Regions from separate parts of the Homo sapiens genome. Here all the other regions are linked to region 1. Evidence: promoter capture Hi-C in 16 types of primary human blood cells and fetal thymus (Javierre and others, 2016). All regions are on one chromosome and are shown on one strand. The core of a region is centred on a gene start or on the middle of the fragment in contact, and the rest is flanking DNA. Distances in the headings are between cores, read along the strand shown.

Region 1 (3,930 bases), core at 574-3,073:
CTTTGCAGCAGGATGGATGTGGCTGGATGCCATTATCCTAAGCGAACTAATGCAGAAATAGAAAAGCAAACACCACATGTTCTCGCTTACAAGCAAAAGAGCTAAATATCGGGTTCACCTAGACATAAAGATAAAAACAATAGACACTGGGGACTTCAAAAGTGGGAGGGAGACAGCGGGGCGAGGGGTGAAAAACTTCCTATTGGGTACTATGCTCACCATCTGGGTGACAGGATCAATCCCAAACCTCAGTACCACACAATGTACAATTGTAACAAACCCGCACGTGTATCCCCTAAATTTAAAATAAAAATGGAAATTTTAAAAAATGCAAGCAGTAACACCAACTGCCCAGGAGTGCTGGGGGAATTGCATGGGATCCCCAATGTAAAGCACTAGCATAGTGTCTGAGCCCACAATGGGTGCACAGGACACATGGGGTTGCTGTCCCAAACCCAGTCCTCACTCAGAGCCAGTCATGGCCCTGTGAACAGCATTAATTAGGTCAGAGAGAATGATTCACACTCGAGTTCTGGAGAGCCCAGGGAAACTGTTATGTCACCCTGGTGCTATGTTTACTTCTCCTATCAGGAGTGATTAAATTCTTAGGATCTCATGCTCAGAGGTTGACAGTTATATTGAATTTTACCCACTTTTAAAAAACCTTTGGAAGCACCCGATTATTTGTCTCAGCTTTGATGAGGGCTGTGGAAGAGCAAATGTGTCATGACAAGTCACCAACCACAGGGAGCCTCAGAGCTGTCAAAGGATGGGCCATTCTCCAAAAATTCAAGCAAACGCAGAAACGGGAGGGCCCCTGGACTGGGTATCTTCAGTCCTGTCACTTTTTGCAGGTGGGGGTTCCAACATAAGTCATACAGCAGCCATACAAGCATTAGCACAGCCCCTCTAAGTCGAAGTTCAGGGACCCATGAGACTCAAATCCCAGGCTGATTTTGGTGCATATGGCCACCTGCACTTTCTAGAAGATCCATATCAGATTCTAAAATGGCCATGAGACCCTAAAAATATTAGGAAACGCACACTGAATGAAACTAAAATGATTTATGTTAGGGGTGGGAGAGAACAGGTCCAGAGGTCAGAGCTGGGAATCGTGAGGTAAAGCAGAAATTGCAAATGTTTTCCATCAACCCCATCCCCCACCTTGACACCCCCACACCCCAGAAACACTGAACTGTTCCCAGTTCCCCAAATGGCTTGTGGTTTTCTGTCCTCTCTGCCTCCGTGCTGGCAAATATTCGTCCAGGAGGCAGTGACTGGGAGAGAAAGACTAACTTCTTATTCACCAGATCGGATTTCTTAAACAATAAGGAGTTCTAAGAGGCCATGCCAAGCAAACGGCCAGACTGTACAAAGGTGCCCCTTGAGCAATAAATAGCAAATGCTCTGGGCTTTACTGATAAGCCTCCCCAGACTCCAAGCCCCACCAGGCATGCAGACAAGTGCCTGCAGTGATTGCAGCGCCTGCGCAGCGGCCCTTGTTGGAAGTCCAGGAGTCCGCGCTACCCCGCAAAGTCCCTGGCCGCTGCCCGCACACCGAACCTCTCGGGGCTGAGTCGGGCTGCTTTCTCCTCGCGTCCCGGGGCGCCCTCGGGAACTCGGGAGCGCGCGGCGAGCTGAACAATGGCCTGGGGACACCTGGCAGGTCGCAGGCCCCAAATCTTCCCCGCCGCCCCTAGGCCACCGCCCTGCACCCGGAACCTACCGGCGTTCCCAGAGCGGGGCGGACGGGGCGGTGCCATTGGCCGGTGCGGAGTGAGGGGCGTGCTCGGGGCGGGACGGAGAGACCGGGGCGGCACCTTTGGCCGTGCCGGGCGAGAGGCGGGGAGCGGGGCGGGGCGAGGGGCGAGGGGCGGGGCGAGGGGCGGGCCTGGCCCCGAGCAGCTGAAGCCTGGGGTCAGCAGGCGCTGCGGGCGCAGCTCCGGTGCAAGCGAGGACACGACACATGCAGTGGCTTCTGGACTGCGCGATGACTGGACGGTGAGTGATGAACGAGCAGGAGAGTGCTTGGGCGTCCATGGAGCATCCCCTCCGACCCAGGACTGCCACCAGGCAGGGACGCTGAAGCCTGGGCACTTGTGCCCTTCGGCCGCAGCGCGCAGGGTCCCTCCCCCGCCAGCCTGGCGCATTGCGGGCCTCGGGCTCATTGCTGAGAGGGGGCACTGCGCCTGGCACCTCTGTTAAGCAATTTAGGGGCTACAACCTGAGCAAGACAGATGAGCCCGGCCACTGGCTACACCTTTTTTGTTCACCTTGTCCTTAACCAGTTTCCTAGAAGCACTGATCCTAGAGTTGGGGAGAGAGCCTAGAGGCCTCTGGCACAACTCTGATTTCACTGATGGAAATCGAACGCCAAGATAATAGCAGCAGGGGGGGTCTGTCTCACAATCGCTGTCTGTAGAGGGCTCGCCTTGCTCTGGGCCAAGTGCTTTAACACGATATGCCTCTTACTCCTCACAGCAAGTGAGAGTCCTACTTTCGTTATCCCCTTTTCAGATGTGAAAACTGAGGCTTAAAGAGTTATAAAATTGTCCACCTTTACCGGATGAGTTGGTGATGGAGCCAGGATTTGAACCCAGGGCTTGTTGTGCCCCTGAGTCTCTTGCTCTTCACCCTTAGTCTCCGAAGGTCAGCCTGCCTGCTGCCCTGCTCTTCTGGGCTCCTGACTCCGGTCCCATCCTGCACTTCCCACTTCCAAAACATGCCTCAGTGTTTTCATTAACCTGGCACGGCGGAGGGAGGGAGGCCTCCTCTCACACCAGAATCAGTGCCCAGGCCAGGGCCAGCACTTTCTTAAAACACAGTAAGGACAGCTTCAGGAGCCCCATTTCACATAGGAATTAAATAAGGTCGCACAGCAAATAAGGGCTGGGCTTCTGGAATTTGAACCCAAGCAGGTTAGACTCCAAAGCTATGCTTTGCACTCACAGAGGAGCCCCTCGCTGGCTTTGCTGTAGTTTAACTGCCCACAGTACTAAGGTGTCAATCAGGATTTGTTGCCAGAAACCATTTTTTTTTAAGTTAGAAGTGAATTGGTGAAGTAACAGGTAAATGTAGACCATCCTGCCTTCTGTTCCTCTGTGTGGTTCCTTAGCTACTTCTGCCAGGACAGCAGGTTAGGGGAGAAGACAGGAAGGGAGAGGGTCAGAGGAGAAAGAGGAAGGGAGGGAAGAGGAGAGATGAAACTCATTAAACTTAGGTTAAAAAAATGCTGGCCGGAAATTGTCATGGGCTGTTTCAGCACTTTGTCAGTGTATGTGAAGGCTGTTGTCATTAGTTCTAGCCATAATTCTCTCAGTGTGTAGTGCTGGTGATTTGACAACAAAAAGGTTGATGCTACAGATTAAAGTGTCTGTCTGAAACTCAGGAGATTGGGTTGTATTTCCACCATGAAGCTCCAGTGGGTAGCCTGGAGGTCGAGAACAGAATCAAGGTCCAGGGTCGCCCTGGGTCAGGACCAAGTGGACCATGACAGATAACAAAGAACATGAACGAAACTTGGGTGTGTGTCAGAGTTCAGATTCTGGACGTGCAAAGCCTCAAAGGGGAGACCTAACTAGGGGATCTGCCAGAAAGCCCTCTGCCCTGGGCCCCTGGGGTCTGGGGCCTGGTTTCAGGTGTCAGCTCAGACTCTCTCCTCATTCATGGCCACTCCTGCAGGCAGGCCTCACATTCCCATCTCTGGGGCTCCACAGTCTCTCCAGAGCCCCCAACTCCCAGTGTCAATAAGAATAGTAATGGGAGCCTCTTTTCATTATGGGTGAGCCCAACACAAGGCCCATCTTACAGGTCTCCTCATTCGTCTTCACAGAAGTCATCGAGGATTATAGTTATTTAATTGATGAGGAGCCCAAGGTTCAGAGAGGGAACTGGACTTGCTTAAGGTAACAGAGCCAGGCAGTCACAGAG
Region 2 (3,930 bases), core at 663-3,162, 1.8 Mb before region 1:
CTGCCTGCTCTTCAGACTTAAAGCACTGATAGGACTTAAAATAGTCTCATTCAAATACTGTATTTTATATAGGCATTTCACAAAAACAGCAAAATTGTGGCATTTTGTGAGGCCAAGGCTTGGATGCGTGTGTAATAGAGCCTTGTGGTGTGTGCGCACACACCCAGAGGGAGAGTTTGAAAAATGCTTATTGGACACGTAACCTGGCTCTAATTTGGGCTGTTTTTCAGATACACTGTGATAAGTTCTTTTACAAATATCTATAGACATGGTAAACTTTTGGTTTTCAGATATGCTTAATGATAGTCTTACTAAATGCAGAAATAAGAATAAACTTTCTCAAATTATTAAAAATGCCTACACAGTAAGTGTGAATTGCTGCAACAGGTTTGTTCTCAGGAGGGTAAGAACTCCAGGTCTAAACAGCTGACCCAGTGATGGGGAATTTATCCTTGACCAATTTATCCTTGACCAATAACCTAATTGTCTATTCCTGAGTTATAAAAGTCCCCATCCTTATTAGCTCTACTGGAATTTTCATACACGTAAATGCAGAAGTTACTAAGTATTAAGTATTACTGAGTATTAAGTAGTAATCTGTCAGTTATTAAAATTTGTAAAATCTATTTATGAAAGGTCATTAAACCAGATCATGTTCCTTTTTTTGTAATCAAGGTGACTAAGAAAATCAGTTGTGTAAATAAAATCATGTATCATAAAATGTGTAAACTTTTTTTCTTTTTAACATTCTAGTTGGAAACAACAGATTTCTGATTTTGTAGTTTCCATACAATATTTAAAACATCACAAAGAATTCTATCATGATAACCACTGAGGCATCAATAGTGGTCGAGGACTAGGGGCTCTGGAGATATCGCTGGCTTATCTGGTACATTTGCGTGTGAATAGGCACATTGATAGAAACTGAAAAACTCAGCTAACTCCACTGTTCAAGGAATCCCTTCCTTAAAAGTGTCCATCCCTAGAACAAAGCAGCAGCCAGTGTCAAGTTTAGGTCTTCACAGTTCTCTAGCAATTTGCTTGTTGCTGATCTTTTGAAGTTGGCCTTAGAGCTGTGGGAGACAGAATACAAAATGCCAAGTCCTGAGGAAGGCCATTAGAAGTGTGAGGGAAAATGCTGTCCTGAACCACCATGAAGCCTGACATACTCACTACTTCTGTTTATGTCTTCCCCGAGGAATTCTCTGAGCTTCTCATGCCGGGCGTGGAGCTGATGGGTCAGTGGGCAAACGGGAGTTGTTGTCAACATCAGTCTCATCTGCGATTGCATTGTGTCAGATGCCAACGGCCTGTGTCACACACATACACGTGTGTATACGTGGGCCTTTGCACGCCTCGCCAGGTGGTGTACATGCAGGCCTTGGCACGCCTCGCCCAGTGCCCGCCCCAGGCCCATGAGGCCCCGCTTCCCAGCCGTGGGTGTCTGTGTCTGCTCACGGCTTCCTCCTTCAGCCTGGACCACGGGCTGGAAGTGAACGTAATCTCCAGAGCCAGCTGTTTGCTGTAGCCTTTACCTCTGAAAGTAGAAATCTACGCCAAGAAAAGTTAATGCTAAAAGCCACCCCTAATGTAGACTCTACATTAGGACTATTTGTGTGTGTATGTTTGCTGTTTTATTTTCCCCTAAAAACACATTTTCTGCCAACCTTCACGAAGGATTTCTTCCCACCACGAGGCCAGCTTATGTGGGCAGAAATCTAGTTGAATGTGCCTGAGAACAGGGCTTGAACAAATACTTCATACACAAAAGAAATTTTGAAGGGAAAGCATAATTTCTAACATATAAAGAAAGCCTCTCCCGCAGGCAGGTGGAGCAGTTAGCGGTGCCTCTCTCTGCCTCGGGTGCGTTCACGCATAGTGTCTGGCACACCTTGTTTTATTGCTCTTTGCTTTATTGCGTTTTTCACAAATTGAAGTTTTGTGGCAACGCTGAGTCGTCGAGAAAGTCTATCAGGGCCATTCTTCCAACAGCCCACACTCACTTCATGTCTCTCTATCAGTACTGTTAAGCAGTAAAGAATCTTTAAACCAAGGTATGTACATTGTTTTTTAGACATAGTTCTGTCACACACTTAACAGACTCCAGTACAGTGTAAAGTGTAACTTTTATATGCACTGGGAAACCAAGAGACTTGTGTGGCTCACTTATTTGGGATCTTCAATCTTCTTTGCTTTACCGGAGTGGTCTGGAACAGTATCTCTGAGGTTCGCCTGTGTTTAGTGGTCCTCACAACTGGGGGGTGGTTCTAGGAAGTCCTAGGGAATCCTAACCTCTGTGGCCCTGAAAAAGCAGAAAGGTGGGTCTTCAGGGTGCATGCAGCAGTGTGCGTGGCCCCACACGTCTTCCACATGAAGATGCTCCAGGTGCAAGTCCTAGGCTTGTGCGCCTGCAGGGAAAGCACCCTCTCTGCCAGGGCTCCTGCTGTGGCCCTGTCCCTTCTCCATGGCAGCAGCCTTGACCGAAACTGTGTAGAGTCTCCCACCTCTTCAGGGAGCTGGGACTCAGGAAGGATCATCTTAGCTGAGGTCATAAGAACCTGCATGTAGAGAACTTTTCAGCGTGGGGCCACTACTGTGTCCTGCTGCTGAGGCCAGGTAGTGGCCGTCTGAGGGCTGCAAGGGCAGGCTGCTCCCAGGAGTTAAGGAGGCAAACACTCTGAACACCCTGGAGAAATCACAGTTTATCTTTGCAACTACAAATTTGAGTGCTGTGTCAAGTGACCAGGTATTTTTGCAGATGTCTCTGAGGTGTTAAATCACAGGACCTGGCCAAGCAAGATCTCTCAGCTGGACCCCGGGCAGGGGATCCTTTATGGGGGCACATCTCACTGTGGGGGCTGCAGAAATGTGAAGGTCATCATGGAGGGAGCTTGCGGTCTGAAACTACCCCAGCCACTGTGACTACCACACTGGGAGAGATCATAGACCTGCATCCTCTCAGATGACACTGAGCAGTTCAAGCTAAAAATGTGCTGGTAAGCAAGGTAAGTGAATTCTAAAGCTAAAAAAAATCATTTTTCATTTTCTGAGAAGGAAACAAGTTTGATATTTCATACACAGACAATATTTACCATGCAGACTGTCAATTTCTTGAATAAAAATATGAAATTCATTTAAAACATTCAAGTTTTTGTGTATTTTTCTCAATGTATTAACAGAAGAGCAACCTGTTTCTTGGCTGCTCGATTGTCTCACCTGCACATCAATCCTTTTCTATACTCTCCCATGGAAGAAGGGGTCTCCAGGGGCAAGAGACTTTGGTCAGAGGACTGCAGGGAGCCAGGCAGCACCCATGTCTTGGAGCCTCCCCTCTCCCTAGGGCGTGTGCCTTGCTCCATATTTTGTGCCTTTCTTCTGGGAGTTTTCAAGAGCTTGAGAATTTTCCTGGAGACTCTGGCCACAGGGCCTGAAGCTCTTAGATTGCTCAGAACCCCATGGTAAAGGAGCACACTGAGGGTTTGGGGGACTTCAGTGTCTGGGAAGAAAAGTAAGATCATAGCAAATGATTTCTAAAAATAAGAATGACACCAAGGATGGAAGAGCTGTAGTGTCTCACAAGACAGTCACTGGAAAAAGTAGAGGAAGTGTGGTTGGACACTATTTTTAAAGAGATATTCACACAATTACCTCTAATCTTTAACTTTGTAGAAATAAGCAAAGGCTACCCATATGAGAACCCACAGGAGCCACTGGTTCTGAACTTGCTATAGCAAGAGAGTCAGCCAGGATCACTTACTTTTGGCAGACACTCAAAAGCAGGCAGAGGAGTGGGAAAGCCTTATAGTAAAAAATAAAAGGTGGGGAGGGTGAGGAGAAGCCTTCAGGGATGCTGTGATTGGGGCTTGTTGGCCTGGGGAAGCTGGAGGCAGCTAACCAGGAGGAGGGCCTCTTATGTGATTGGTTTGGGGG
Region 3 (3,930 bases), core at 679-3,178, 1.6 Mb before region 1:
CAGCCGCCAGCGCGCGCCTCGCGTCCCGCCACGCAGATGGCCGGCCCGAGCCCCCAGCGCCCGCGAGCAGTTTCGAGAACTAAAGAGGCGCGTCAGCTCGTCCCCGGGCCGCCCGCGGGCAATGGCCGAGCTCGGCTCTCCTTCCACCCTCCGCCGGGACACACGCGGAGCCGAGCGGGGGTCCCAGGCGCCTAGGGGGAGGGGTTCCCGCGCCCGGGGCGGCCTTGGGGGGAGGGCGAGTCGGGTGCCTTGCTCCTCAAAACCCTGGTCCACGACTCTGCGGTTGGGGGAGCCGGGCAGCCGGCGCAGCAGGAGCCGGGCCCCGTCCACAAGTTTCCTACGAGCAGGGCGGAATCGACGAAAATACTTAATACAAACAAACAAAAGGAAAAAAAAAAGGACGACTAAGCTGAAGAGCGCGCACGAGTCAGATTTTCACCCCAAATACAAACACGATACCTCTAGGAGCAGGAGACCAATACAGGGACCGCGCTCCGAGGACACGCGGCGCAGCCGAGGAGGAAAAAGGGCCCGGGGCCGAGAGCTAAGGCTACGGGAACCGGGCGTGGGAGGAGGGCGGAGCCAACTCCCCACAAGGAAGTCTTGTGCAACTCTCAGGCGCCTGCAGCCACGTGAGCGCGCGGCTTTCATTTTACTCAGGTATTATTACTATTATTACTTCTTTTGAGACAAGGTCTCATTTCCGTCGCCCGGCTGGAATGCAGTGGCACAATCACTGTCACTGCAGCCTCGACCTCAGAGCAAGCGACCCTCCCGCCTCAGCCTCCCGAGTAGCTGGGACAACAGGCGCGCGCCACCACACGTGGCTAATTTTTTTTTCTTTACTTTTCAGTAGAGACAGTCTATGTTGCCCAGGCTTGTCGGGAACTCCTGGGCTCAAGAGATCCTCCCGGCTGGGCCTCCCACTGCGCCAGGCCTGTTCTCACTTTCAGAGCCCTCCGGCAGTCGCCAGCTCCCCGCCAGGGGGCCGGACTAACGCACCCGGCCGTCCGTGCCTTCCCCGCGCTTTCCTGACTCCAAAATCTCAGCCCGCGGTGCTCACCGCGTGGGACCACTGTCTGGGCGTGCGGCTCTCGACCTCCGACGCTGCGTCTCCCGATCCCAGTGGGTCCAGTTCTTGCCGGTCCCACGTACGGGCCCCTCGACCTCGAATCCCGTCACCCAAATCTCAGCGCCACGGCCCCTCATTATGTGCAGTCCTCGCTCGGTCCCAGGTTTGCGGCGCTTAAACTCAGATCGCTCTTCCCTGATCCCAAATCCCAGCCCCAGCCCAACGATCCCCACCCCAATAGGCCCAGTCCCCAGGTAGTCCGGGTACGGGGCCCTGGACTTCGGATAGTCTCCCTAATCTCAAATCCCACCCCCCGTCCCCACCCCCAGGGGGACCCGGTCCCCGCTAGGTCCCGGGTGTGCGGCCTTCGACCTCGGAGACTTCGGCCGCCCCTCACCTCGGCCTCCGAGTCTCTACACTCCCGCTCTCATATCAGGCACCCCGGTGGTCCCTTGGAGCACCTAGAGGAGGGTGGGACGCGGGGAACTTGGCAGTTGTAGCAGAGGCAGTTGAGGCTTGTTGACCATCACCATGGAAACCCCCGCCTGCGAGCACGGGGCGGAGCCTACGAGGGGCGGGGTCAGGCGCGCTGCCGGCCCCAATCCTCAGCGCCTGCCCGTCGAGCGCACGCGGCTTTGCCGGAAGCCCTCCTGCTCCCGGCGAGCCAGGCCCCGACTAGGCCCTACTGCCCGGCTCAGCCCTTTGCCCTGGACACCAGGAAACAGAAGCCCAAGGAGCCCGCGTCCCCACCCCCTGCTACCTGCCGGCGTGACAGCGATTCGGTGGCCCCCCGAACCCCACCTTGAGGAAGACGCGGCGCAGTCCTGCTTCCACGACGGAGCCGGAAGGACGCAAGGACCGCGGCAGGGCGGAGTTTCTGCGTCCGGCGTCCGGGGGCGGGGCCGCGACGGCGCATTGTGACGCGCCAGAGCTGAGCCGCCGGTTGGCCGGCTGGGCGCGGAGCAGAGCCGACACGGCTGGCGGGGGAGGCGGTGGAGGCGGACAAGCGAGGACGTTTCTGGAGAGGAGAAGGGAGGGGAGGGGAGGGGATAGGGGGAGGGGGAGGAGGAGGAGGGAGTGGAGCGGCGGGAAAGATCCCTCTGACTGCCCCTGAGGCCCTGGAGGAAGGACACTGGTGAGCCCCGCAGGACACTGAAATGTGCGCCGAAAGGACGCCTGATGGAAGACTAGGATGGGAAAAGGAAATGAGAGCCGATGGCAGGGCGTGGTGGCGCAAGCCTGTGGTCCCAGTAATTTGGGAGGCTAAGGCGGGAGAATCGCTTGAGCCCGGGAGGTCGAGGCTGCAGTGATCCGTGACTGCTCCATTGCGTCCAGCCTGGGCGACAGAGCGAGGCGCTGTCTCAAAAAATAAAATAAGGAAAGTAGTACACTGAAGGCCGGGCGCGGTGGCTCACGCCTGTAATCCCACCACTTTGGGAGGCCGAGGCGGACGGATCAGGCGGTCGGGAAATCGAGACCATCCTGGCCAACATAGTGAAACCCCTACTAAAATACAAAAAAATTAGCCAGGCGTGGTGGCGCGCGCTTGTAGTCCCAGCCACTCGGGTGGCTGAGGCAGGGGAATCGCTTGAACCCGGGAGGCGGAGCTTGCGTGAGCCGAGATCGCGCCACTGCACTCCAGCCTAGCGACAGAGCGAGACTACGTCTCAAAGAAAAAAAAAAAAAAAAGGTACACTGAGTACTCCGGAGACCGCCTAAAGGGGTCTCAGAGCAGGGCGTTAGGAGGGATTTGTCAGGTTGAAGTTGCTCAGGTGATAAATTCCGTGGTGTGAGAAGCCCCCAAACCTCAGAATGTAACTCAGACCCAGGTCGAGGGCAAGATTTTCAGTCACAGAGCACCTGAACACACAGATTTGGTGGCTAATGGCTAAGCCAGGGACAGATTTTCTTTCTTTTCTTTTTTTTTTTGATGTATTGTAGGGCTAATAATTGTAACCATTTTATTTTGGTGGATCTTCTTCATGAAGAGATGATGTCAAGGCACTCATCACAGGTTAAGCTGAACATTGTTACTATTGTTATTATTTCCAGACTGAGTATCGCCCTGTCATTCAGGCGGGAGTGCAGTGGTACAATCACGGCTCACTGCAGCCTCGACCTCCTGGGCTCAAGCGATCCTCCTGCCTCAACCTCCTGAGTAGCACCACCACTCTCGGCTAAATTTTGTATTTTTTGTAGAGGCGAGGTTTCGCTGTGTTGCCCGGGCTGGTCGGGAACTCCTGGACTCAAGCCATCCGCCCACCTACGCCTCCCAGAGTGTTGGGATTACTGGATTGAGCCACGCATCTGGCTGAACGTTATTTTTTAAATCACCAGAGAAAGTAAAGGAGTGCTCAAAATAGTGTCAGATGATGAGTGGGATGATTGTGATGAAGGAAGGAGTTTGTTAAAAGAAAAAGCTAGTTCCAAGAAAGAGAATGGAAAGAGTAAAGCAGGAGCTGTCAGAATAGGTAAAAATGTCCAAAGAGAAAACTGCATAATTTGAGGCAAAATTACAGAAAATAGTTCCTGCAAAAATCAGATAGGTATTCAGCATCATAGGAAAGGGGCGAAAATCAGATAGGTAGGTATTCTTAAGAAGTTGTGGCCGGCCGGGCGCGGTGGCTCGCGCCTGTAATCCCAAGACTTTGGGAGGCCGAGGTGGGTGGATCACCTGAGGTTAGGCGTTTGAGACCAGCCTGGGCAACATGGCGAAACCCTGTCTCTACTAAAAATACAAAAAAAAATTAGCCGGGCGTGTTGGCGCGTACCTGTAGTCCCATCTACCCTGGAGGCTGAGGCAGGAGAATCGCTTGAATCCAGGAGGTGATGGTTGCAGTGAGCCGAGATTGCACCAT
Region 4 (3,930 bases), core at 1,431-3,930, 1.4 Mb before region 1:
AAGATAAAATGGCAGGCGGGACTCCATTCTGAGAAGGGAAAGGATATGTTGGTGGACTACTAACTTTGTGGTAGGTAAAAAAAATGACAGGAGTAGACCAAATGAAAAGAATCATTGTGACAAGGGAAAGGAGAAAAGGAAAGGAAATTAGTGCTCCTGTTAAAGCAAGACAAAGGTGGGACTGAAACACTGAATAATCAACAGTCTTCCCAGGTATCAGTGGCACTAAGGAGTCACTCCAAGGCTGTGCTCCTGCTTACAGTTGGGAGAGCAGACTTGATATTCTAAAGGCCAACCAAAGAGGAAGGTCACAAGTTCAATTGTTTCCTGTTTCTATCAGACAAATGTCGACCTCCTCAGAACTACATACATGCCATCATGTGGCCTTCCACTTCTTTCTAGAGCCCATCTCTGCTGTATCTAACAATTTACTTTGAAGTGGAAAAGCAGGAAGAGGCACACTAGATTACCTGGAGTCATTCAACACATTACACTTGAGTCTAGCACAGTCCTTTCTATAGTAAGCCCTAACTTATTGAGTTCTCCCATCCATTTTGGAGCTTTCAGTCTCAGGACAATAGCCTCTTTCTGAAGCATGAGGATGAGTTAGAATTCTCCTCCTCTGAGATCTCATAGCATCTTTCACATCCCTCTACTATAGCTATTAAGTCTCTCCCAAGTTGGCTGGAAGATTCTGAAGGATAGGGGCTACACTCAACTCATCTTTGTTGTTTGAAACAGAGTCTCACTCTGTTGCCCAGGCTGGAGTGCAGTGGCATGATCTCAGCTCACTACAACCTCCACCTCCCGGGTTCAAGAGATTCTCCTGCCTCAGCCTCCCGAGTAGCTGGGATTACAACAGGCATCAACATGACCAGCTAATTTTTGTATTTTTAGTAGAGATGAGGTTTCACTATGTTGGCCAGGCTGGTCTCAACTCCTGACCTCAGGTGATCCTCCCCACTCAGTCTCCCAAAGTACTGGGATTACAGGTGTGAGCCACCATGTCTGGCCTCAACTCATCTTTAAATCCCCAGCAACTACCACAATTGACTTGGAATCTGAAAGATAAATATAAATTCACATTCAATTTAAATGAATAATAATACAACTAAAAGAAAACATAAAGATGGTCAAGCCCAAGACCCTCAGTTTACAGAGAAAAAAACCACAGTTCATAAGGGCGAAGTGACTTACCCAATGTCACAGAGGAAAAGCAGGGTTAACTAAGACTCCCGCCTTTCAGCAGACCTAAGGACAATGTGTGGTACATAGAAAACACACAATGCTTGGAATGAAGTCCTTCCTTTAAATTAAAAAAGTTGTTGTGTAACACACACCAGAATCTCAAAATTTACTAAACTGGCAATCCCCAGTTGCAGCGGCAGTGAATACTTAATCATTAGGGAGCAGGCAGAAGCGAAGGAAGGAAAATGTATTGATTCTACTAAGGTTAATCTCCCTTGAAGTCCTCAATTACTTTTCAGGGCACAGAGAAGCCATGCTCTCAGTACCTCAAGTCAGCTTACTGTCCTCTAAACAGATTTTTTCTAAGAGCTCATGTGTGTGAGGGCTGTATTTGCCAAGCAAAAAGATGGCCTTTGCTGGTAGTGTTAAAAAACATTTTTTTTCCCTTAAAACGCAGTCTGATATTTTATTCAAACAACTTCTGATGTGATGACCTGTTTAGTTAATGGAGAAAGAACAGCCTGAAGGAAGAAAACACGGGGTTTATTTCTGGCCTTCTGCTCTCTGAAACAAAGGACAAGGCACTTTCCTTCGGCTCTCTCAGAGTTAGCCGAGTTAGAGCTCTCCACCATAAAACGCCAGGACAGGGCAAAGAGGGGGCCGACCATCTCAAACACCATGGGATTCTAAGTGGGGGCTGACCATCTCAAATACCCTGGGAGTCTAAGGGTTAATTTTGAGGTAACCTCCTACAGATGGTTTTATGGGGACAACTGAAAACTCTCTTTAAAAAAGTACGACTTGGTAATTTAAAATTTACTGGAACAGTTAAATATGTAGACATGCTAGTGAAAGAGAACAAATCAACCTGAGTATAAAGGATGAATAACTCATTTTACCTACCCTAGAGACACTTATAGTGTATAGAGAGATATTTCACAATAAACCTTTGGATGTACAAAGATCAACAGAATAAAAAAGGAGTGAAACTCTCCTTTCACTAGGTCTGGAAGAGAGAAGGAAGCTTAGTTCTTAAAAAACACCACAGAGAGTTCTGATGCATAGCCTAGTTGAAAAGCATTTCTAGAGTGATTTTGTAACCACTGTGCTGCCATTTAACGAATTTCCTCGTTTTTGACTCATAGTTAATAAATTATCACTATTAATATGCATTTTTTTGTGTACAGGTAATATAATATGTTCATCAAGATGGTAAGCTCCTTGAAGAAAAGCACCGTGGTTTATCATTCTATCTGTTTTGCTGAGACCACTTAGCACTGGGATGAGTATGGAATAGCTTGGAATGACTTTCAATGTGAGTGAAATGTCTGGCAGGAAAAGGCAGGCTTTGAGAGGCTCCCCAGGAGGGCACAGCCCACTGCTCTGAGGAGTGGAATAAATTCTTGGAGGCAGGATGGGCCAGTGAAAACTCTCTGTGCAGACCCTGGTGACATCATCTGCTAGCTACATGTCCTTAGTATCTTAATGTCCCTACATCCATAGCTATAAAATACCGTACTGGGGGCCTGACAATAAAGAAAACAACACATGGCACAGGGACATTTCAGGGAGATGGCATTTTAGGAGAAATGGAACGCCAACTCACCCGGACCCTGGTCATTTCTTACTCCCAGAGGGGATGGATTCCTGGAAAGGCAGAGTTAGGGAAAGAGAAAAAGCCATGAAAATCAAGTCCAGCAAGACTGCGGGGAAAAAGTTACTCCGCTCCTGCCTCTGACGCTTCTTCAGTCACTTCCACCCACACTCCCTCCATCAGGTGAGAGGTGAAGCATTTTCTGTCACCACCTTCATCTCTCTCCACAGGGCTTTCGATTAAACAAGCCAAGTTTTCCCCCCAAAACCAAGAGGCTAGGTAAATTCCGCAGCCGCCGGCAGCTCGAAGCCGTGCCCATTTCCTCTGACTTTCCCGATCTCTGTCCTAAAGTTCTAGTTAAGAGGAGAAGCTTCTCGGGATGGATTTCGGTTGCCCAAGACGCCTTCCCCGACCTCATTCTCAGGAGCCTGGCTCGTTCCTGCGGTGCGGGGGCTCAGATGCAAGCTCTTTTCAGCGAAGGCAGTGCTGCGGACAGAAACCTCAGTCTCTTACAGGAGCCCCCGTCCGTCGCCTAACGTCCACCGAAAACCCCCCTGCAATAACGCCCGTCACAGGCGAGGAAAAGGCCGGCGTGGCCAACCACGAAGCCCCCAGCCGGCCCAGGCCAGAGCTCGGCCAGGAGGGAGGAGGGGCCATCGGAGGCGCGGCCGCTCAGCTGCAGGGCCCCACAGGCTTCGGTGTGGCCGCAGCCCGGCCCCGGGGGCGCAGCAGCTCGGAAATGCGGCGCCGGGACACACGTGCCGCCGCGGGCCGCGCCTCCGCTGGTCGCGTGCCCTACCATCGCCGCCCTCCCGGCTTCCGCAGCTCGGCGGCCCAGCGCCTTACCCGCGGCACACCCATTTCCTGACCCCTGAACGCCTCTGCCAGCGGCTGGGGAAGCCCGGCCAGTCTCACCTCCCACGTGGAACCCCACGCCTGCAGGGGCCAGATTCCGGATGCTGACCGCTCGCGCGCCTAGGGCCCCGAAATACAAGTCCCAGCAAGCCGCGGGCGAACCACGCCCACTTCCGGCGCGGGCCCCTGAACTCTGCGCTGTGCGGAGCGGGATTCTTGGGCGGAGGGGACCATCTTTGAGTCAGCGACGCGTGTATTCAAGTCCTCCTCCTCGTTTTTTATTACAAACAAAT
Region 5 (3,930 bases), core at 803-3,302, 1.4 Mb before region 1:
TCCAGTGCAATCCTTGCCTCACTTGTCAATAGTGAAAAATTAGTTTGGTTAGAAGAACCATCTGGAAACACACCAGCTTCTGCTACCTTCATGCTCATTGTCAGAAAAAGATTAACCAGTGTGAACGTTCTGATCTGTTAATTCCTGGGACTGTTTTCTTCCCAGTGGACTGTTTGTTGGTAGAATAACCCCCAAAGCTCAAAGCTAAAATGCATCATTAGTCCTCGTCGGCAGTTGAGCTGATTTGGAAAAGCTGCACCTTCCTGCAGAAGATCAACTGACCTGCTATCCCACTGCACATCTGAGGTATATTTCAGTGAAGGCAGGTAGCTGTGCTTTTCAGAGCAGAGAAGCAGTTTTAAGAGCAGAAAGGTAGAGGAAATCTAGAAAAGAACCGTCTTGATACAGATTTATCCCATGGTGTGAAGGGAGGGCAAAGAACCCAGTGGCACTTCGCTTATCCAGCAATTTCTGTCACTGTGGCGACAAACTTCTGCCCATTCCAGAGGGTCTTGAACTGCTCAGGAACTGGGAATTCATTAAAGTCACCGCCTTCTGTAGGAATGAGGACATTCATCTCAGAAGATTTGGCACTGGCTATTTCACAATCCAGGGAATTCTTGCTCAGGTAAGCATGGCAGCCATCTGTTTTGTTGATGGAAATGGTTGGCACTTTACTCATCACCTGAACTTTGACATCCCTACTGTTGATTATCTCCACAATGCCCACCATATCATCGAATACCAGACCAAGTTTCTTACAATTATCTACTGTAATGGAGTTAATTTTGCCCTTGATTTGCAACATCGTGTTGACACACTTGTATATGTAAGCCGCCTGTTTCAGCTCTGTGTCATCAATCACCAGATTGGAAACATTTTCCTGATTTTCCACTCTCCACTTCTTGCCCTCCAGTTCAAGTACAGCTGGCTCCTTCTTTGTGGCTGGTTTGGGGTTTAGGTGCAGAGAATGGCTTGGGGCCACTGCGTACTGGACCACTCTGAGCCTTCAGGGTAGGGTTCTTGTGAGTCTTCATGTCATCAGATACACGTTTCAGGGCATGTGTGATGCTCTCCCCCTGATTAATCTGCGCAAACAGTGCTGAGAGGGAAGCGGACTCATCTGAGCCTGAACTGACAGAGACTAGTGGAGGAGGGGGGCCTGGTGGTGGGGGAGGAGTAGCTGATCCAGCAGAGGGTCCAGATGGCAGTCCACTCAGTTCTTTTGTCACAGGCCCCGTTTTGCTCCAGGCAGTCCGGTGGTATGGAACTCCTTAATGTAAGCCTGCAGCTCTGTGCATATACTTAAATAAGCTTTGACTCAGTCTACATGCTTCTTATCCACATCTTTGTACTCTTTAAGGACTCAGTTTGTATAAAACACAGCAGCATGATTCATTTCTTTCACATAAGGGCCAGGATTGGGAGCCATAGCCACCCAGCCTAGGGCCTGGATACTTTCACTGACAGCTGACAGCTGATTAAACAACTTGCTGCCTCGGTTCTTCTCCCAAAAGGTTATCACTTCTTTGATCTGCTCTGAGATAGGTGCCAACAGATCGGAAAGCTTATTACCTGCCGGCTATTGACACTGAGAAGCTGTAACCAAGAGAGCTCACTCCAACTTCAAAACTGTGTGTACCATCTCCACATCTTTCTGCACGTCTTCCCCAATCTCTTTACTGATCTTCAAGTACTCTGCCACAGGGCAGGCAAGCAGCGAGTCAAATGCCTGCGCATATGGAGCTGCTCCTGCTTTTGAAGGACTATCTCCATATCCACGGTGCATGTCAGAGGTATGGGATACTGCCTCCAGGCGGCCCACTGCCCTGTCCAATTTTTTACCAGATTTTGCATGTCAGTCATAATGTATCACCTCCCGACTGCGATCAGCCGCTCTCCACTTCCCGCACCTTCACTTTTCAAAGATTCCCAGGTGATGCCAACCTGCTCTGCGGATGGAGCCCCTAAGACCCCAAGCGGCCCAGACTACGTTTCCCAGAGGCCTCCGCGGCCTCAGCCACTTCCGCTTCCGGTCCAGCCTGTCTCCGCGTGGTGCGAGCGCTGCACCAGCCCCTGGCTGGTGGTTACTGTCCGAACGGCGTGGTGTGGTCGCTGACTCTCTGGGCGTGCAGCTCCGCAGCCCTGCCGGCTCGGTTCGGTTCGTGAGCGGCCGGGGTCAGGCTGGGTCCCTGAAGCCTCGAGCCCCTGGCGGGTGCTCCCCGCCTTTCCCAGGGGCGGGTCGAGGGGCGAGCCGGGGTGGGAGGGGAAGGCGGCGGTGGGCAGTGCCCACCCGCAGTGGCTGCGCCGTGTGGAGCGACCGCTCGAGGCTGGTGCATCACAGAGCGCTCCAGCCTTGCGCCCCGGCCGACAGATTGGGCCACTGACAAGGCCGTCCCCCGGTGCTGCCAAAAGTGTTTGGCGTGGAGCTGGCTGCAGTCCAGGCCGGATCCCAGCAGCCGTTCCCTTTCCTTTCTTCCCGAGCGTACCCACCTGGACCTGTCTGCCCACCTGTGGAGGGAACGGGCGGGCGGGGACCTGGTCTAGAGGGCAGATTCTAGCTAGGCTAGGGCACGGAGGGACTTCCTCAATTTCCTCTCTTCTTTCCCAGATTGACTTACGCAGGATTCTCAGCCCTTGCCTGGGAGAACAGTTCAGGAGACAGATGGCCCCAAGAGCCCAGATCCAGGCAAGTTTGATTTTTCCATTTCTTGAGAAACCACGTGTTTCAGCGAGGTGGGGTTTATGCCTCTTGCCCGGACAATGCCCTGCCCTGTGTGTGGACAAAGCTACCCGAACCAATCCTGGATGGGTCCCGCGATTTCCGTCCTGTCTACCCATTACGTAGTCATTCACCAAGTAGATTATTGCTACCCATGTTTTCTAGAGTGCTAGAAACAGAAAAGTGCTTTGCAAACTGGCAGACGATGAAAAAAATACACGTTAGCATGTAAAGACGTAGGCCATAAAGACATAGGGTGATAGCAGTGCTCTCTTGACCTTTAGTGTGTGGTAGGGTGGGAGGGGTGGAGTAGTGGGCGCCTTAGTTCTTCCTGAAGAATAAATGAGATTTGCATAATTGCAGAGGATACTAGGGGAAAGCGCTGCCTGAATGAAGTCATTATGGCGGGACCATGAACAAACTGGTCTGAGAAAGTTGGAAACATTCATGGTCTAGAATCCCAGACTGGAGTTTGCTTTTATCCTGGAGAAAACTAGGTTTTGAAGGATTTTGAGAAGCTGATTAAATAATTGGTATTTTGAAAGGAAGTGATAAACATTTGAGTGTCTATTATACAAATAAAATTAAAAAAATTAAAGATCACCTACATTTCTACTGCTCTAAGTCAAGTAATTTCATTTGAAACACACTTTTCATTTTTTTAAGGCTTACTCATTTTTTCTTTTAGTATTTCATAGCCATTCCAATTTGTTCTAGTTTCATTACCACTTTTTGTGGCTTCCTTTTATACTGTGCCTTCAACCAGCCCTGGGACCTTGAGCAAGTTCTTCCAACTCTCTGAACCTTTGTGTCTTTAGCTACGAAATAGATTTTACTTTATATAGTTACGGCAGAAATTTAGAGAGATGATATGTATCTCAGGGTTTAGCACCGTGGCTGGTACATAGTAAGTTGTTACTCTTATGAAAAGCAATTTTTTTTTCTTTTTTAAAAATATTCTGCCCCAGAGTCAGATCATACTCCCTGTAAATTCTCGGATAAAGCTAATCACTTTCCATGTCTTTTCAAAGTTTCTATTCATTTGTTGATTGAATAAAGCTTGAACACTTCTGTGTCAGGCAGTGTTTTTGACTGGGAGGCAGCAGTGACCCACACTGTCCCCCTGGAGCTCACATTAGAGAGGATGCTGACAGTCAGTGCAAACCTCTCCTGCCAGGTGGTGAGAAATCCTGTGAAGAAAAGTGAAA
Region 6 (3,930 bases), core at 897-3,396, 1.3 Mb before region 1:
AGGGTAGCAATGAGGGATGATTGCAAATGGAAATGAAGTTTGTTAATGGTGTAGTGCAAATGTTCTAATGATAGATTGCAATGTTAGTTGTTCAGCTTTGCACATTTTCTAAAAATAATTGAATTGTACACCTAAAATAAGTGAGTGTTATTGTATGTGAATTATGCCTTGATAAAACTGTTTTTAAAAATAATAGCAAGATATGGGAGTTGAGGGTGTTTGCAAGCAGGTGATTGATTCAAAGAGGGACCATATAATGTAAGCTGGTAAGGAAGGTTGAAGAGTAGTGGGAGAGTAGCAGGATCCATGAATTATTGATGCAGCTGACAATTTATTGGCTTTAGTTCACTAGAGGAAGTGAGATGCAAAGACAGGAGTTGATAATCAGAAAATGAGATGATTAAAATTGAGACCATTGTTGGATTAATAATGCAGAAGTTACAAATATGATCATGGATGGAGGTGAGTGGCTCTGGTCTTCTGGAGAGGAAGTTCATTGGAAGTAAGGAGGAAAAGTGATGAGTCATTTATAAGCACTCCAAGTGTGATGACAGTAGAGCTGGAGTGAGTGATAATGATACAGGAACTAAAATCTTCAAGGGGTGACCCAGGTGATAGATGATTGCTGCAAAGAGGAATAATGTGTACAATGGCTTTAAGGCAAGAGACTCAACGTTGGAGTTAAGAGGGAGGGAGAGAGTATTGCCTTGAAGCAAGCAGAGACAGGGTCACAACAGGCTATAGTCAGGATTATATGAGATGTTTGTATAGGCAAAACCCCAAGAAACTTCCTGAAAGGTTACGGTAATAGTAAAACAAGTTTTTCCATCACATCTGTAGCTTGTGTTGAATGAGATGTATTGATTACAGTCGCCATCTCGGACTATGGCAAAGCTAGGGAGGTTAGTGGCCTGAAAACATAAAAGGAGTATAATCAGTAAAATCAAGAAAAACTAGGCAGGCTGGCCAGAATTACTGGGAAGAGATAGAAATTAGAAAACAAGCAGAATTGTAGAGTGATTTGCATTCTTTAATCAAAGGAATGAGGCTCTCTAAGAGTAAGGTGAGATTCAGCACTGCAGAAACACAAGTCTTGGTCATGGCTGGATTGTACATTCTGTTGTCACTAAGTCCCTGACCCTATGGCAACGACATCATAATGACCCCAAATGCAAGTAAAGTAAACAAAATCAGGGCAGGGCTACAGGTGATCTGGTGAACTGGACTTGGTGGATGGTGTGGAAGGGACTTTGGGAGAGACCTGTGCCCATGATAAAAGGGAAGATGAAGATGTTCCTTTGAGTTTGCATGTGTGGGGCCTTTTTGGCATGGTTGACTTGTCTGTACTCCTTCCTGTGACTTGACATCAAAATTAGGTAAGAAATCATGTATTTATTCATCCTTGTTGACTTTTCTAGTTTTCTGTGGCATTGATTCTTGAATGGAAGCCCTAGCAATGAGGAACTTGGCGTGGAAAAGGAGGACAGACATGCACTGTCTCAACCCCCTGTGTAAGGAGTAGGGTAATCCAGGCCACCTGCTGCTTGGAATTTTCTTCCTGCTCTTTTATTGCCCTGAAGGGAGTTTTGGGTCTGCCTAGAGAGTCTGGTAGGGTTGAGAGTCAAACTGTGCAGCTGGTAAGAAGAATGGGCTGTAGGCTTGTTAAAACACAGTGTGCTGTCTCTCCCTCCCTTTTCCGCAATCTCCGCAGTTTCGGGGTCAGTAGGTCTGGGATAGGCCCTGAGGATTTGCATTTCCTATAAGTTCCCAGGTGATGCTGATGTCCTCAGGAACCACTAGGTTGGATTTATATGTATTTCTGCAGAAGAATGTTTTTGATACCGTGGAGGATACACCCCAAGTGTTATGGGTTCAATTCTGTCCTCCAAAAAGATATGTTGAAGTCCTAACTGCCAGTACCTCAGACCATGTCCTGCTTGGAAATAGGATCTTTGCAGATGTAATTAGTTAGGATGACATCATAGTGGCATAGGGTGGGCCTTTAATCCAATGTGACTGGTGTCCATATAAGAGGTGGAGAAATGTAGAGACACAGACACATGGGAGAAGGCCATGTGATGGCACAGGCGGAAAGTGAAGTCCTGCAGCTGCAAGCCAAGAGCGCCAAGGGTTGACAGCAAACCACCAGAGCTAGGGACAGGCAAGGAGGGGCTCTCGCTACAGTTTCAGAGGGAGCACGGCCTCGATTTTGGACTTCTAGCCTCCAGAACTGCCAGATAATAAATTTCTGTTATTTAAGCCACCTGGTTTGTTGTACTTTATTATAGAATCCTTAGAAAAGTAACACACTAAAGTTACCTTCAATGGGTCACGCCCTTGTGTAACCTCTCCCTTTGTGGGAATAACCAGAGACTTGCCTCTGATAGAATATGGCAGAGGTGATGGGATGCCACTCCTATGGTGGTTATGTTATATAAGACTCTGGAGACTCTCAGCAGACTTGGAAGATAAGCAGACTCTTAGCAGACTTGGAAGATAAATTCTCTTCTGTTGGACTTGAAGAGGCAAACTGCCATGTGGTGGCAGAGAAGTTTAAGTGGCCTGCAGGACCTCAGGGCAAACTTCAGCTAATAGTAAGAAGCTGGGACCCTTAGTACTACAGCCATCGGGAAATGCATTGTGCCACCATCTGAATGGGCTAAGGAGGGATCTTCTCTAGTTAAGACCAGATGGACACGGCTTGGCTGGCAACCTGATTTCAGGCTGGTGAGACCCTGAGCAGAGTTCCCAGCTTGGCCCCTCCTTAACTTCAGAACCACGCAAAATTGTGAGATAATGTATTTGTGTTTTTCAACCTGCTAAGTTTGCAGTAATATGTTACTAGAATGTAAAGATAGATACGTTTATTAATGAAAAAAGAAAAACTAAACTTCCAAACGATGTGTATAGAGTGGTCCTTTTTTGTTTAAAAAGAATGAAATAAGAAAATATGTTCAAATTCCATGGTTTGTGTAAGTATATATATCAAATAGTATATAGAAATACACACGACCAGTATACTGTGGTGTGTGTGTGTGTGTGTGTGTGTGTGTGTGTAACTTTGGAGTGATGTTATTTGGAATGATGTAACACTTGGGATTTTGGAGTAGGGAGATTATTGGCTTTTTTAAGTATAACTTTTTCTTTGGAAGTGGTAAGGAGCATGTTTAGCTTTAATGGGAAAATCAGATAAAGTTTATTAAAGAGAAAATTAATGTATGTTGTTGGTCATTTTTGGTTATAAAAATAATGTATGTTTATTATAGAAAAACACAGAAACAAGAAAATAAAAGTTTATTATGGCCCTTTTGGCCAGAACCACCGTCTTCCAGTAATTCGACAAAATGACAAACACAAAGGGAAAGAGGAGAGGCTCCTGGTAGATGTCTTCTAGGCCTTTTAGGAAGCATGGAGTTGTTCCCTTTGGTCACGTATATGTGAATCTATAAGAAAGATGATATTGTAGACATTAAAGGAGTGGGCACTGTTCAAGAAGGAATGCCCCACAAGTGTTATCATGGCAGAACTGGAAGAGTCTACAGTGTTACGCAGCAGGCCGTCGGCATTGTTGTAAACACACAAGTTAAGGGCAAGTTCTTGCCAAGAGAATTCATGTGGGTATTGAGCACTTTAAGCGCTCTGAGAGCTGAGCTAGCTTCCTGAAACTTGTGAAGGAAAATGATCAGAAAAAGAAGGAAGCCAAAGAGAAAGGTACCTGGATTCAGCAGAAGTGCCAGTCTGCTCTGCCCAGAGAAGCGCACTGTGTGAGAACAAATGGGAAGGAGCTTGAGCTGCTGGAACCTCTTCCCTATGGATTGATTCATGGCATAATCGGTGTTAAAAAAAATAAAATAGAAGACCTCTGGATTGTAAAAAAAAGAAAATTATGAGCACCCCTCCAGAAGATAAACACTATGTAATCCTTGCTTT
Region 7 (3,930 bases), core at 673-3,172, 1.3 Mb before region 1:
GTAGACAGAGAGAGAGAGAGAGAAAGAGAGAGGGGTTGCATCTAGTTCACTTGGTTCATCAGACTTGTTAGTAATATATCCTCTCTTATTGCAGTTTAGTGATTTTCTTTAATTCTTCATTCCTTCCAGTAAGTGGTTTTGGACTCATCTAGGGCTTTTTGTTTGTTTGTTTTAAACGGCAATGTTCTCATTCACTACTCAACAATTTGCATGAAACCATTGCATAATTTTGACACACACACGTAATACACTTGGGATAATATTTTCAGAAATGGCTTATTTGGGTTTGCCTTTGCTCTTGAAGCTGGCTATTCTGAATGTAACACTTGTTGATCCTCCCAAAGATCTGATGCTTATGATTGCAGAGGGGCAGCTTGATGCTACCTTGCTTCACGTTCATTTAATCTGACTTTTCCACCAATCTACCCTAAACTCCTTTGAACAGCAAAGACAGAATATGAATTAATGCTATAATTAGCACTATGTCAAATTATGTCTGAATATGAGAAGGGATAGGAGATAAATATGAAAATGTAAAAGATAATTTGAGAGCAGTGAGATGAAGTGTGAATGTTTGCACTTAAAAATTTTTATTCTTTGCTGTTAAAATAGTGTTTATGCAAAAATAATTTAGAAAACCATAAAAATCCCTGAAGAAAGTCTGAGAAAGAGGTGCAAGGAGAGAGGGAGAATTTCCAGCTTCATCAAAACTGTGTGCAGATGGAGCCTCTGCAGGTTTGTCATCCCAGCAGTGATGTGGACAACACGAACACAGCAGAGGCAGCCACTGGTCTTTAACGGCACCACCAGCCCATCCCGAAGTCCATCAGAGGCACCTGTGAATCCACAGGTTCAGCGGACACTTATTTCCTGGGTGCCTATGCCATGGAGGCCCTCTTCCTAGTGCTCTGTGGATGCTGGTGTGGGCCCCTCTCTACAGCTCTAGGAAGCAGGGGTCTTAGTCTGTTTTCTGTTGCTTATAACAGAATACCTGAAACTGGGTAATTTATAAAGAAAAGAAATGTATTTCTCACAGTTCTGGGGGCTGGGAAGTCCAAGGTTGAGTGGGTGCATCTGGTGAGCATTTTTTTTTGCTGGTGGGGACTCTGCAGAGCCCAGAGGTGGTTCAGGGCATCATATGGCAGGGGGCTGAGCGTGCCATCTCAAGTCTCTTTTCCCTTTTTATAAGCCAACAGTCCTACTGCATAACACATTAATCCATCAACCCCTTCATCAATCCATTAATCCAGGAATGGACTAACCTATTCAAGAGGGCAGAACCTTCATCACCCAGTCACCTCTTAAAGGCCCCACCTCTCAATACTGCCATATTGAGGATTAGGTTTCAACATGAGTTTTGAAGGGAGGAGTATTCAAATCACAGCAGCAGGGACCATTACTACCCTCCTGAGAGAAGGGGACCTCATGGGGGCCATAGTCAAGGGCTCACCTCCTGCTGCCAAGCTGGGAGGCTGCATCACCAGCCCAAGTGGCCCGGGCCCCGGGGTTCACGCTTCTGATTCTGGACTCCCTGTCCCCTAACCATCCCCCATCCCATCCCTCCTTCACTCCCTGGGCTCTACTTTCACGAATCCGCTGTCCCCTCCTCAGGCCACAGCTCTTTCCTCAGCAGACATCATCCTGCCTGTTACAGAGGAAGTGGGCACTGCCGGGCAGAGCCCCAGCTCTTCTGCACCACGTTCAAGAAGGCAGGCACCACACAGGCAACCTCACGCCTCCTTCGGAAGCAGATGGAGTTTTTTTTTTTTTTTTGCACAAGGTTACTCTAACCTGTTTGTCTTCTTGGGGTAACTTGTTCATTCATATATGAATTGTCACCCATTCTATCAAACAAATAAAATCACCATGACAATTGCTATTTTTAGGCACATTTTAAAGCTATAAATGAGATCATGTTAGTTAATAAAAATTATCTCCTCAGTTAAATGGGTATTAATTACAATTTCCAAAATTACAGCAAACTCTGAACCCTCCTTTTAGACTGGCTGGTACCATCTGTTCTAGCTAGGTATTATACTTTACTTAGCCATTCCCCTGCTGTTGGACATTTAGGACGTTTCTAATTTGAAATTTAACATTGGGTGGTTTTCCAAGTATTTATGTATATATGTATTGGTGCTGATTATGACGACGTCAAATTTCTCTCCGTCTCTGCCTGCCGGCTTCAGCTGCGGCCCCTCCTCTCGGAAGGTTCCTCAGGAGTTCTCCTGTCCAGTTAGAGGTTTTGGGGTTTCCTCCTTACGCTGGTCTCAGCGACTTCCTGCGGCTCAGAAGCAGCACAGGCTGGACCCAACCCCTGCCTCGGAAAACCACTGTGCTGATGCGCCAGCAGAGGGCCGAGAGGACAGCCGCGGCGGAACCCAGGGGCGACAGTTCCCTGGGGCCAAGGGGAGCCATGTGGAGCCCGGCCCAGGCTTGGCGCCCAGGCTCGGCCGGGCTGCTGTGCGCGCGGGGAGTCCGGGTGTCCACTGGCCCGAGCCAGGGTCCCGCACTTAGCGATTTCCAAGCGCGACTTAGACGTGGCCTAGTGGGTGTTTTTCGCTGATGGAAACGCTGGCCGGGACTGCCCCCAGCCTCCGCGGAGAGTGGGAAGCTCCCAGCAGGGGCGCGGCGGGTGCGCTCCGGGGCCCTCCCCACTGCGGGGCTTCATCATACGAAAAACCTTTGGAAGGGCCTGGAGAGCTTTGGCCTTTGTTTCGTGGGCTGTTTACTGACTTTCGCTCCCAGTTAAATCTTCCAACCCGAAGACATCCTTCTGAAGTCAGCAGCACAGATTACACCTAAGGGGAGGCGACTCGGCCTTCTTCCCTTCCCTTCCCTTCCCCTCCTACGGCAGGTCCCGCTGGCGGGAGGACGCCCCGCGAGTGGGGTGGGCCGCGAGCGGGAGGAACACGCACGTCCCGGGGCGGCCGGAGGGGCCCCGCTTGCGCAGGGGGTTGTCAGAAGACTCGCACGCGGCAGGAGGCCTGGCCGTGGGTGCAGAGTTCCCAGTAGGACGCCCACGAAAAAAACCTAACTCCCATTATGTTCTGTAATTCTAGTCTAGCCCCTATTTCATGCTTGATAGAGAGCAGTCGACCCCTTCTTGGTGAATTCTGCCAAGTTAGTCACTTCTCAGTCATGTTAATTAATTGTTTTAGAGACAAGGTTCTGCTCTGTCGACCAGGCTGGAGTGCAGTGGAGCGATCACGGCTCACTGCAGCCTCCGCACCTCCGACTCCAGCGATCAGATTCGCCTGGGTTGTCCAGCTTTCAAGTCCACCGGGGTCCCCATGGAACTTCTGGCTGCCCTCCCTCCTCAGCCTTTCAGGGAAGATGGGGCTGCTGTGGGTGCCAAATGTGCCCAAACCACCTGCACCCCTGAGGCGGGTGACACAGCCTCTCCAAGAGCCTTGGTATTGTGCCATCCAGGCTGTCCTTCAACCTCAGCCCTAGACCAAGGCCTCAGACTTCGGGAAGGAGGCCACTGCACATCCACCCTCAAGCCCACTGCACTCAGCCCAAGGAGCTGAGGGGAGTGAGCAGGGCCTGGGGCCTGGGCCTGTATCAGGCTTCCTCTCCCAACTCTTCCTGCCCCTACCCGGCCTGGAGGGCACAGACACACATAGACACACACAGATATGCAGAGACACACACACACAGACACGCAGACACGGACACGCATGGATGCACACAGAGACACACAGACACACACACAGACCCAGACACACATACGTGGATGTACACAGAGAGACACAGACACACATGGACACACATACACAATTCTAGATATAGAGAAGCCGTGCCTGTAGCTTGCAGTGCCATGTGTCTGCACGCACTGCGGGTGAGGACTACACCAGCTCCGGGGTCGCTCTACTTCATTGCCTTTCCAATCTTTGGTCTCACAGCTGGATGGCACTCTCTAGATGA

Evidence for each region. Contacts are between HindIII fragments. The CHiCAGO score rates a contact against its expected background, and 5 or more counts as called.
Region 2: a contact is called between a fragment that was not itself captured here and the fragment with the promoter of TMEM72-AS1 in region 1, in 3 of 17 cell types (M0 macrophages, M1 macrophages and M2 macrophages). The highest score is 8.2, in M0 macrophages.
Region 3: a contact is called between the fragment with the promoter of HNRNPF here and the fragment with the promoter of TMEM72-AS1 in region 1, in 1 of 17 cell types (M0 macrophages). The highest score is 10.0, in M0 macrophages.
Region 4: a fragment that was not itself captured here is called in contact with the fragment with the promoter of TMEM72-AS1 in region 1 in 4 of 17 cell types (naive B cells, non-activated CD4 T cells, activated CD4 T cells and 1 more); the score reaches 10.4 in naive B cells.
Region 5: the fragment with the promoter of ZNF485 here is called in contact with the fragment with the promoter of TMEM72-AS1 in region 1 in 2 of 17 cell types (activated CD4 T cells and non-activated CD4 T cells); the score reaches 7.7 in activated CD4 T cells.
Region 6: a fragment that was not itself captured here is called in contact with the fragment with the promoter of TMEM72-AS1 in region 1 in 1 of 17 cell types (total B cells); the score reaches 7.7 in total B cells.
Region 7: a contact is called between a fragment that was not itself captured here and the fragment with the promoter of TMEM72-AS1 in region 1, in 1 of 17 cell types (total B cells). The highest score is 6.1, in total B cells.

What each region holds. Positions count from the first base shown.
Region 1 is chr10:44,957,866-44,961,795 of GRCh38, forward strand. TMEM72-AS1 (TMEM72 antisense RNA 1) reads right to left here and starts at 1,824. Exons shown (of 8, transcript NR_033842.1): 1 at 1,727-1,824. It overlaps RASSF4 (Ras association domain family member 4), which reads left to right and starts at 1,937. Exons shown (of 11, transcript NM_032023.4): 1 at 1,937-2,001. RefSeq lists an enhancer at 1,616-1,910 and a silencer at 1,688-1,907. The HindIII fragment of the contact is 10,910 bases long and covers 1-3,930 here.
Region 2 is chr10:43,129,631-43,133,560 of GRCh38, forward strand. RET (ret proto-oncogene) reads left to right here. Exons shown (of 20, transcript NM_020975.6): 20 at 1-721. Among named protein-coding and RNA genes, the nearest start is that of CSGALNACT2-DT, 6.8 kb to the right of the region's middle. RefSeq lists enhancers at 704-1,304, 1,305-1,905. The HindIII fragment of the contact is 4,128 bases long and covers 1-3,930 here.
Region 3 is chr10:43,407,258-43,411,187 of GRCh38, forward strand. It overlaps HNRNPF (heterogeneous nuclear ribonucleoprotein F), which reads right to left and starts at 1,929. Exons shown (of 4, transcript NM_001098204.2): 1 at 1,874-1,929. RefSeq lists silencers at 1-268, 1,549-1,668, 2,119-2,348 and enhancers at 439-498, 639-688, 656-1,259, 699-1,038, 1,769-1,828. The HindIII fragment of the contact is 6,154 bases long and covers 1-3,930 here.
Region 4 is chr10:43,570,843-43,574,772 of GRCh38, forward strand. It overlaps ZNF239 (zinc finger protein 239), which reads right to left and starts at 3,774. Exons shown (of 4, transcript NM_001099282.2): 1 at 3,698-3,774; 2 at 2,795-2,835. RefSeq lists a silencer at 3,497-3,556. The HindIII fragment of the contact is 940 bases long and covers 2,211-3,150 here.
Region 5 is chr10:43,604,386-43,608,315 of GRCh38, forward strand. It overlaps ZNF485 (zinc finger protein 485), which reads left to right and starts at 2,053. Exons shown (of 5, transcript NM_145312.4): 1 at 2,053-2,161; 2 at 2,612-2,689. The coding sequence starts at 2,666. It also overlaps the pseudogene CAP1P2. RefSeq lists an enhancer at 1,759-1,808 and a silencer at 2,089-2,368. The HindIII fragment of the contact is 2,214 bases long and covers 1,566-3,779 here.
Region 6 is chr10:43,627,603-43,631,532 of GRCh38, forward strand. ZNF32-AS3 (ZNF32 antisense RNA 3) reads left to right here and starts at 1,215. Exons shown (of 5, transcript NR_038867.1): 1 at 1,215-1,376. LOC124902416 (a long non-coding RNA gene) reads right to left here and starts at 3,882. Exons shown (of 2, transcript XR_007062132.1): 1 at 3,716-3,882; 2 at 3,180-3,443. It also overlaps the pseudogene RPL21P88. The HindIII fragment of the contact is 5,917 bases long and covers 1-3,930 here.
Region 7 is chr10:43,665,059-43,668,988 of GRCh38, forward strand. All of the region lies in intron 1 of ZNF32-AS3 (ZNF32 antisense RNA 3), which reads left to right. Among named protein-coding and RNA genes, the nearest start is that of ZNF32, 18 kb to the left of the region's middle. RefSeq lists a silencer at 2,260-2,439. The HindIII fragment of the contact is 8,678 bases long and covers 1-3,930 here.